Regions from separate parts of the Homo sapiens genome. Here region 1 is linked to region 2. The links are contacts of gene promoters, found by promoter capture Hi-C in blood cells and fetal thymus (Javierre and others, 2016). All regions are on one chromosome and are shown on one strand. Each heading gives the region's core, a stretch centred on a gene start or on the middle of the fragment in contact. The rest is flanking DNA. Distances are from core to core; before and after follow the strand shown. Region 1 overlaps OSER1-DT (OSER1 divergent transcript). Region 2 holds the start of LINC01430 (long intergenic non-protein coding RNA 1430).

Region 1 (4,174 bases), core at 701-3,200, 240 kb before region 2:
CTGAAGTTTTAAGTCATTATACATAGGACTGGCTCACGGTGTGATACATCATGACTTGGAAAGAGATAGAAAAGCTACAAAATGGGATGGATCTGAGTGAACAAAAAGCCAGATCGGTGTCCTATACCAGCAATTCCAAGTCTTTTTAACCATGGGAAAAAAACCTGAATTTGTGTGTGGACTTTATATTGAAGAAATCAACTTTGTATTAATGCACATGGTAATGCCATTTAATTAAAAAGCTGTGGTAGATGTAAAATTCCTCTAACAGTGCTTCTTTCTTGCTACAAGTGTCTTGTACATGCTTTAGTAAGAGAGACTTAATTCCATGAATTTATACTGCAAGAACAATTTATATAGGAAGATAATAGTTTCTCTTAAAAAATAACTTTGGAGAAGCCAAGTCCAAAGTAATAAAGAAAATTATTTGCCTAACCATGTGGCTGCCATCCTACCAGTTGGTAATCTGGAAAATATTCTGTTCTTATGTTTTAAGACTCAAATTAATTTATTTCTTACCTCGATATACTTTTTTAAATGACTTAGGGTAGGCCAGGCGTGGTGGCTCACGCCTGTAATCCCAACACTTTGGGAGGCTGAGGCAGGTGGATCACCTGAAGTCAAGAGTTCGAGACCAGCCTGGCTAACATGGTGAAACCCCATCTCTACTGAAAAATAAATAAATAAATATACAAAAATTAGCTGGGAGTGGTGGGCACACACCTGTAATCCTAGCTACTTGGAGGCTGAGGCATGAGAAGCCCTTGAACCCAGGAGGTGGAGGTTGCAGTGAGCTGAGATCATGCCACGGCACTCCAGCCTGGGCTACAGAGCAAGACCTTGTCTCAAAAAAAAAAATAAAATTAAATTAAAATGACTTTGGGATAGAAGATAGTGATAATGATTATTTGTCTTGATTTACAAGATGTTAGCTCATGTAATCTTCATAACCAATTTGTGAAATGTACTTCTATGATGTCTGTTTTACAGCTGAGGAAACTAGGCTCAGAATAGTTAGATAACTTGTCCAAGGTTACATAGTTTGTAAGTGGTAGAACGGGGATTCCAATCTAGGCAGTCTGACTATAGCACCCTGCTGACCGCTGAGTTACACTGCTTTCCTTAGCCTCCCCACCTTCACCTCCTGTATGTACCCAGCTAGACCAGGGATACCTGCTTTCACCTGGAAAATACCACTGGGTTTGAGGAAATTGGCTGCCCAGGGCCTAGGACTGTTCCAGCCACTCTTTCTTTGCATATATTTGAACCCAGCAGGCATATTTCCCTCTCAGGTCTTTTGTATGTATTTCCCCTCCTGGAGCATTGTTTACTCACAGTTCATCTTGTCATTCAAAGTCTCTGCTCATATCAGCTCCCCAGGGGGGTCTTCCTTGGCTTCCCCAGCACCCCCTTCACTGTGTATCCCTTTACCCTGCTTTATCATAGCACTTGTCACTACCTGACAATGTATAGTTATTTTTTGGTCCCCTCACTAGAATAGAAGCTACCCGAGGACAGGGACTTTGTGTCTTTTTTTTAGTCACTATTTTTTTTAATCAAAGATGCACATTTTCCCACAATTTATTAATAGCGGTTAGAAAATCTGAATGTGTCTTATAATCGCCAGTGTGTCCTGGTTTAATTGGTAGTATTTTTTTCTTTCTTACTTGTTCCTACAGTAAGTGGTGAGTCTTTAAAATGATGGTGTCTTAGAATTGATGAAAATACAGTGTATCCCCAAGGCCTGAACTCTATGTGGCACATAGTTGGCTCTCAATAATTACTTGTTAAAGGAAGGCATTGAGTGTTGTGTGCCAGAAACTATTGAAACCTTTTTTTTTTTTTTGAGATCTCGCTCTGTCACCCAGGCTGGAGTGAAATGGCACAATCTTGGCTCACTGTAACCTCCGCCCCCAGGTTCGACTGATTCTCGTGCCTCAGCCTCCTCAGTAGCTGGGATTACAGGTGAGCACCACCATGCTCTGCTAATTTTTGTATTTTTAGTAGCAATTTATATCATTCCAGCAGACTCTTAGAAAGTAGATGGGGAGGGTGGGGAATGTAAGAGAGACCAGTTAGAAGACACTCGAAATAATCTGAGGGAAGACCAGAATGGGAACCATGGCTGAAGGATGGTGAGACCAGCAGGGCTCGGCAGCCTGCTGAGCAGATGTCTGGCCTGAGCCGTGCCAGTAGGTGGCCCCCTTCACTAAGGAAGGGAATCCAAGAAGACTAGGTTTGGGGAGTGTGAGACGGTTTGGTTTTGAACATAAAAGTTTCAAGTGCAGATGAAAGGAGGAATCAGGTCCCAAAGGCTGCAGCAAGGGACTTATCCTGAGGTTTCTCCTTCTGAGAACTGTAGGAGCTATGGAAAGAAATGACCAAATTTATTTTAGAAAGATGACTGGTTTCAGCGTGAGCCGGCATGGTGATCCAGGCCTGAGATGATGGTGATCGAAGGGGCAGGTGGCCCTAAGTATGGAGAACAAGTGAGCCGATTGGAAAGTTGCGTAGATCAGGCCTTGGGGAGAGATTGACTACGAACAGGATGGGCAGTGAGAGAAAGCTGACAATGATACTTTGCTTTCCAGTTTGAGCAACTGAATGGATATTGGTGCCCATCTCAATTAAACTCTGTTGAACCCAGCTGACAGTGAGCAGAGGAAGAACATTTAAATGGAGAATCATAGTAACAGCTAATACTTTCTTTTATTTCTTTCCTTTTCTTTTCTTTTTTTTGAGACAGAGTCTTGCTCTGTTGCCCAGGCTGGGGTGCAGTGGTGCAATCTTGGCTCACTGCAACCTCTGCTTCCCTAATTCAAGTGATTCTCCTGCCTTAGTCACCCACGTGTGCCACCATGCCTGGCTAATTTTTGTTTGTTTGTTTGTTTGTGGAGACAGCGTTTTGCCATGTTGGCCAGGCTGCTCTCGGACTCCTGGCCTCAAGTGATCTGCCTGCCTCAGCCTCCCAAAGTGCTGGGACTGCAGGCATGAGCTACCATGCCCAGCCTATGAGGGCTAATACTTTCATAGCTCTTCCTATGCATCAGAAGACTCATTTTAATTCTCACCACAATTCTATGAGATTACCATTATCACACTCATCTTCCAGATGAGGAAACTGAAGCAAAGAGAAGTTAAGTAACTCACCAAGGTCACACAGCTAACAAGTGGCAGAGCTAGAATTTGAACCTAGGCAGCTTGGTAGAGTCTGTGCTGTCACTGCCTCTCTGTGCTGATATATCTCTAAATTAGTTCAGTTTGGACAGAGTGAACCTGAGAGATCCGTGGGGCAGCCGCGTGGAGGTGTCTAGCAGGCATGCAGATATATGGTTCTGAAGCTCACATGGGAGGTGGGGACTGGAAATAAAGACTGTGGAGTCTGCATACAGGTGGCCATTGAAGCCACAGGAAAGGTCAGGACCCTTAAGGAGAGGGTGGGAGATAATCAGAGGAAAGAAACAAGGGAGCCCTGGAAGGCAAACACAAGCATTCCAGTTGTGGGAAGGACATAGTCCTTTCTGCAAATGAATACACTGCACCTGGCTTATAGATCTTCAGTCAACAGATAGTCCATCCCGCAGAATTTGTTTGGCTCTGGGTACCCTGACAAAATGGAGTTCCTGGAGCCACAGCCCTAAGGACCTGCCTCAATGGTGGTGATCCTCCCCACTTTCTTCTACCATGAGAGTCCACTGGGGGCCTGTTGGCTTCTCTGGGCATCTGTTTTTTGCCCCTCCCTACAACTGAAGAGCCTCCAGCTCCTCTGTCTACCACCCGTCCACTTCGTCAGCTCAGGTCCCCTCCCTGTCTCTACGACCACAGTAACATTTCACCTGGAGCTTCTTCAGGTCCCTCCTGAACTTATTTTCAGCCCTTTACCCGTACATTTCTTGTATCTCCTGCTAGATTCTAAATTTCTGGAGGGCAAGAAAAACCTATTATGTTGACTTTCCCTCCCTCAACTCCTGCTCCCCTGTGTGTGTTAAATGGCCCGACCCCGTTGTCCCATGGGACTTCGCATGCAGTCCACCAGAATAGGAGCTGTACCTACCACAGGAGCCAGTGAGTCCATCAGTCAGTCAGTCATCTCAGCAAATAATTCCAGTTGTCTACTGGCTTTCTGGAAACATGACTGGGGACTGTTGATGCCTTTGACAGTTGATTCAAGCAG
Region 2 (4,146 bases), core at 1,467-3,966:
TGGTAAGCACAGCAGCTGGGGTGGGGACTGTGGTAAATGAAGGAACACCAACCCAGATATTCAGGAGGGATGTGAGCAGAAACTGTCCTCAGAGCAAACAGGAAGAGAGAGGACTTCAACCAGAGAAGGAGGTGGTGTTGTAGACTGTGTTCCAGGTAGCGGGAACAGCCAGTGCAAAGGTCCAGGGGTCAGGGGAGAGAGCCAGCATCCAGCACATCTGGTGAAGCAAAACAAGTTCTGTATGGGTTGGTATAGAGTTGGGGGTGGGGGGCGGTAGAAGGCAGAGTGGCCAGACTGTGGCCAGATGACTGAGAACCTAGTAAACCATGTCAAGGAGTTTGAACTTTATCCTGAGGGCAAAGGGGAGCCAGGGAAGGGTTTTAAGGGGCAGCAGAGTGGCACAATCTGCTTGGTAGTTTGGAAAGATGCCTCTGGCTCCTGTGTACGGGTTTGGAAGGAGGAGAGACAAGAGACAAGTCTGGAACAAGATCCCAGGTGAGAGAAGAGGCCTGAGTGAATGGGAGGTGGGCCCCAGAGAGACATTTCATTTACAGTGTGGGGAATGGACAGGGAGTTGGTGGCAGTGTGGGTTATACTGGTAACCTAGGAGCCCAGGACTCCTAGATTTTATGATTCTAAAATTCTTGGCCAGGCACAGTGGCTCATGCCTGTAATCCCAGTACTTTGCGAGGCCAAGGTGGGCAGATCACTTGAGGTCAGGAGTTTGAGACCAGCCTGGCCAACATTGTGAAACCCCGTCTCCACCAAAAACACAAAACAATTAGCCGGGCCTGGTAGTACATGCCTGTGATCCCTGCGACTCGGGAGGCTGAGGCAGGAGGATCCCTTGAACCCAGGAGGTGGAAGTTGCCCTGAGCCGAGATCGCGCCACTGCACTCCAGCCTGGTTGACAGATTGAGACTCCTTCTCAAAAAATAAAATAAAGTAAAATTCTCTGATTCTGTGTTCAACACTCCATCATTCTTCAACACAAAATGTTCAATGATATCACCATATGTGTAGGATGCCCAACCTTACCGCCCTCCATCCCTCCTTTCTGAGCTTCAGTTTTCCTTGTTTACAAAGTGAGGATCATTAACACTGTCCTTGCAAAGCAGCCGTGGGAGTGGGAGACGGTGTGTACTCAGCATCTGCACAGAAATGTGGTCCATCATGGCAGGCGTGTTTGTCTGGAAGTGCTCAACACACAGGCACTGTCAGGAAAGAGCCGGGTGTTGAGAGAACAAGACATCAGCAGGGAAGAGCAGGGCAGGCAAGGAAGAGCCTGGTCCTTGTCTGCTCCTGGAGACCTGGGCTGCTCTGGCCTCCCGGCTTCTGCCTGGGCATCTGATACCCAGATTTGGTTGTTTGCTTCCGGGTACCGACAAGTTTACATGTTGTTTGTGGAATTCCCCATTTCTGCAGCTGGCCAGAAACTCCCCTTTCCTGGTCTTAAACTCCCCCAAGGGCTACAGACACCAGCTGGGGGTAGCCAGGCAAGATCTGGTCTTCCCTGGACTGATCTAAGCCAGATCAAGTCCCAACCTGCTCACACTCTAGCGCCCCCTCTAGGTCACACTATAGGCATTCCCTTCTTAGACAACTAACTGTCCATTGGCTCCAGCAAGAGCAAGTCTTTGGAGACAGAACCCTCACTCCTCTCCCCAAAACACATGGTCTCCTGAACCACACCCAAGGTTTATGTGTCTCCTGCATTCTAATTTGCTTCTCACCAATGGTTCAGTTTTAATTCAGTCCAATCCACAAAACATCCATTGAAGCCGGGCATGGTGGCTCACACCTGTAATCCCAGCACTTTGGGAGGCCGAGACAGGTGGATCACTTGAGGCCAGGAGTTTAAGACCAGCCTGGCCAACATGGTCAAACCCCATCTCTACTAAAAACACAAAAATTAGCAGGGCGTAGTGGCGGGTGCCTGTAATCCCAGCTATTCGGGAGGCTGCAGTGGGAGAATCGCTTGAACCCGGGAGACAGAGGTTGCAGTGAGCTGAGATAGCTACACTGCACTCCAGCCTGGGTGACAGAACAAGACTCCACCTCAAAAAATAAAATAAAATAAAATAAAATAAATTGAACAACATAACTGTGACAGGCTTACCCGTTGCTTGGAGAAAGAGATGGGAGGCCAGCAGTGGTGGGCCTGAAGCTGCCAGTGCTTAGTGGATCAGGGTTGGGCTTAGGGTGTGAGGCCAGAGAGCTCAGTTCATTTCTTTGCACACAGTAGGGGCTCTGTAAACACCCGTGAAATTAAATCAAATTAGGAGTTTAAGTGACACAAGCTAGCATGTGCACCAACTATTTCCGGAAGGCGATGAGAGACCGGAGAGTGAGATGGCTTTCGGGGTGGGTGTTGGGGGGCTGGGTAGCTGGGGTCGGGGTGGGAGGAAGACCTACTTCTCATTTTATGCCCTTTTGTACCTTTTGAAATGTTTTACTTTCACCACATGCACACAGAGCAGAATCAATCAAACAAACAATCACAATTAAATAAACAATGCAGGGAGCCAGGCTGTCTCAGAGCTCCATGGCTTCATGCCTGCTCTTCCTGCTGGTGAGATACTGTTTCCCAGCTTTCTCCAACTGGGGAAGTACACGTCCTCCAAGAAGTACACAAATGTCCTGTCTTCTGGGGCCTGTTCCTGCCTCCCTGTGATGGTTCTTCTCTGCTTACCCACCTCATCCACACACGAGTGGTCCAATCTCCAACCCTGTCTGTCCTGCTCTGTGGCCTGGAGGCACCTGTGCCTTCTGACATCACAATACATTCAGCCAAGGGGAGGAATCGGCAGAGATAAAAGGGCAGGATGAGGGAGAACTGGGCATGTTTATGCCACCCCCAGCTCCCTCCCTGTTTTGCCTTAATTTTGGCAGTGGCTGAATTTCTCCATGGTCTTAACTCCTGTCTTAGCCTCACTTATATGGCTCCAGCTATCTCTGGGTCAAGTAACACCATTCTCTCTCTCACCTCTTTGGCCTTGGGGTGCTAACAGCTCCCCACTGTTGCCAGTCCCTGCATGCCTCACCTCTGCAAACACTTCCTTCATTAAGTTTGCTTCAGTTAAGCCAGTGGTTCACAATCTGGGGTGACTTTGCCCCCAGGGGACATTCGGTGATGTCTGGAGACACTTTAGGTTGTCATGACTGGTAGAGAAGATGCTACTGGCAGAGGCAACAGATAGTGCTAACCATCCTACTCCGCACAGGACATCCCCCACAACAGAATTAGCCAGCCCCAAATATCAATAGCACGGAGACTTTGGGTCTCCCACTGCTCCCTGCCTGAAGCCCGACAGTTCATGGCTGGGATTCTGGACTCCTGCTGGCCTCTCTGCTTTGTGGTGTGATCTGCCAGTTTCCACACCTGCTGTTGATCTCCTCTTAGTGACACAGAGATGAAAAGACCCCATCCTTGCCCTCAAGCTGGCCATAGTGCAGTGGAGAGAGACCCTGGTGAGCGGGGTTCCCCAGCAGCCTCGAGTCCTTGAGGGCAAAGTCTCTTTGTCAGTCACCACGTAGCCCCAGTAGTAGGAGAGCAGCAGACATTTGCCAATTGAAACAAAAGGTCCTTTAAAAATATCTTAAAACAAGGCCAGGCTCAGTGGCTCACGCCTGTAATCCCAGCATTTTGGGAGGCCAAGGTGGGTGGATCACCTGAGGTCAGGAGTTTGAAACCAGACTGGCCAACATGGTGAAACCCTGTCTCTACTAAAAATACCAAAAAAAAAAAAAATTATCTGGGCATGGTGGTGAGCGCCTGTAATCCCAAGCCACTACTCGGGAGGCTGAGGCAGGGAGAACTGCTTGAATCTGGGAGGTGGAGGTTGCAGTGGGCTGAGATTGCGCCACTGCACTCCAACCTGGGTGACAGAGCAAGACTCTGTCCCCCCCACCCCCCCCAAAAAAAAGTCTTAAAACAGACAGAAGGTTAGGCTCAATGGCTAAACAAGACCCAGGAAACCCTGGTGAGTTTCCCTGTAACAAAAGTTCCAAGGAAACCACAATCAGGCAAAGATGTACCAAATGAATGAATTCTAGTCCCAGGGGTATGGGTGGGTGAGTGGGACAGAAGACAACTATGAGCATCCCGTCTCTAAAATGGTTATAATGGTAGAACCCACCTCCTAA

Evidence for each region. Contacts are between HindIII fragments. The CHiCAGO score rates a contact against its expected background, and 5 or more counts as called.
Region 1: a contact is called between a fragment that was not itself captured here and the fragment with the promoter of LINC01430 in region 2, in 2 of 17 cell types (erythroblasts and megakaryocytes). The highest score is 8.1, in erythroblasts.

The regions. Positions count from the first base shown.
Region 1 is chr20:44,213,039-44,217,212 of GRCh38, forward strand. It overlaps OSER1-DT (OSER1 divergent transcript), which reads left to right. Exons shown (of 3, transcript NR_038339.2): 2 at 1,850-1,965. Among named protein-coding and RNA genes, the nearest start is that of OSER1-DT, 4.2 kb to the left of the region's middle. RefSeq lists a silencer at 2,183-2,272. The HindIII fragment of the contact is 6,345 bases long and covers 1-4,174 here.
Region 2 is chr20:44,447,841-44,451,986 of GRCh38, forward strand. LINC01430 (long intergenic non-protein coding RNA 1430) reads right to left here and starts at 2,717. Exons shown (of 3, transcript NR_109893.1): 1 at 2,697-2,717; 2 at 2,120-2,250; 3 at 937-1,214. LINC01620 (long intergenic non-protein coding RNA 1620) reads right to left here. Exons shown (of 3, transcript NR_132343.1): 3 at 4,144-4,146. The HindIII fragment of the contact is 11,098 bases long and covers 1-4,146 here.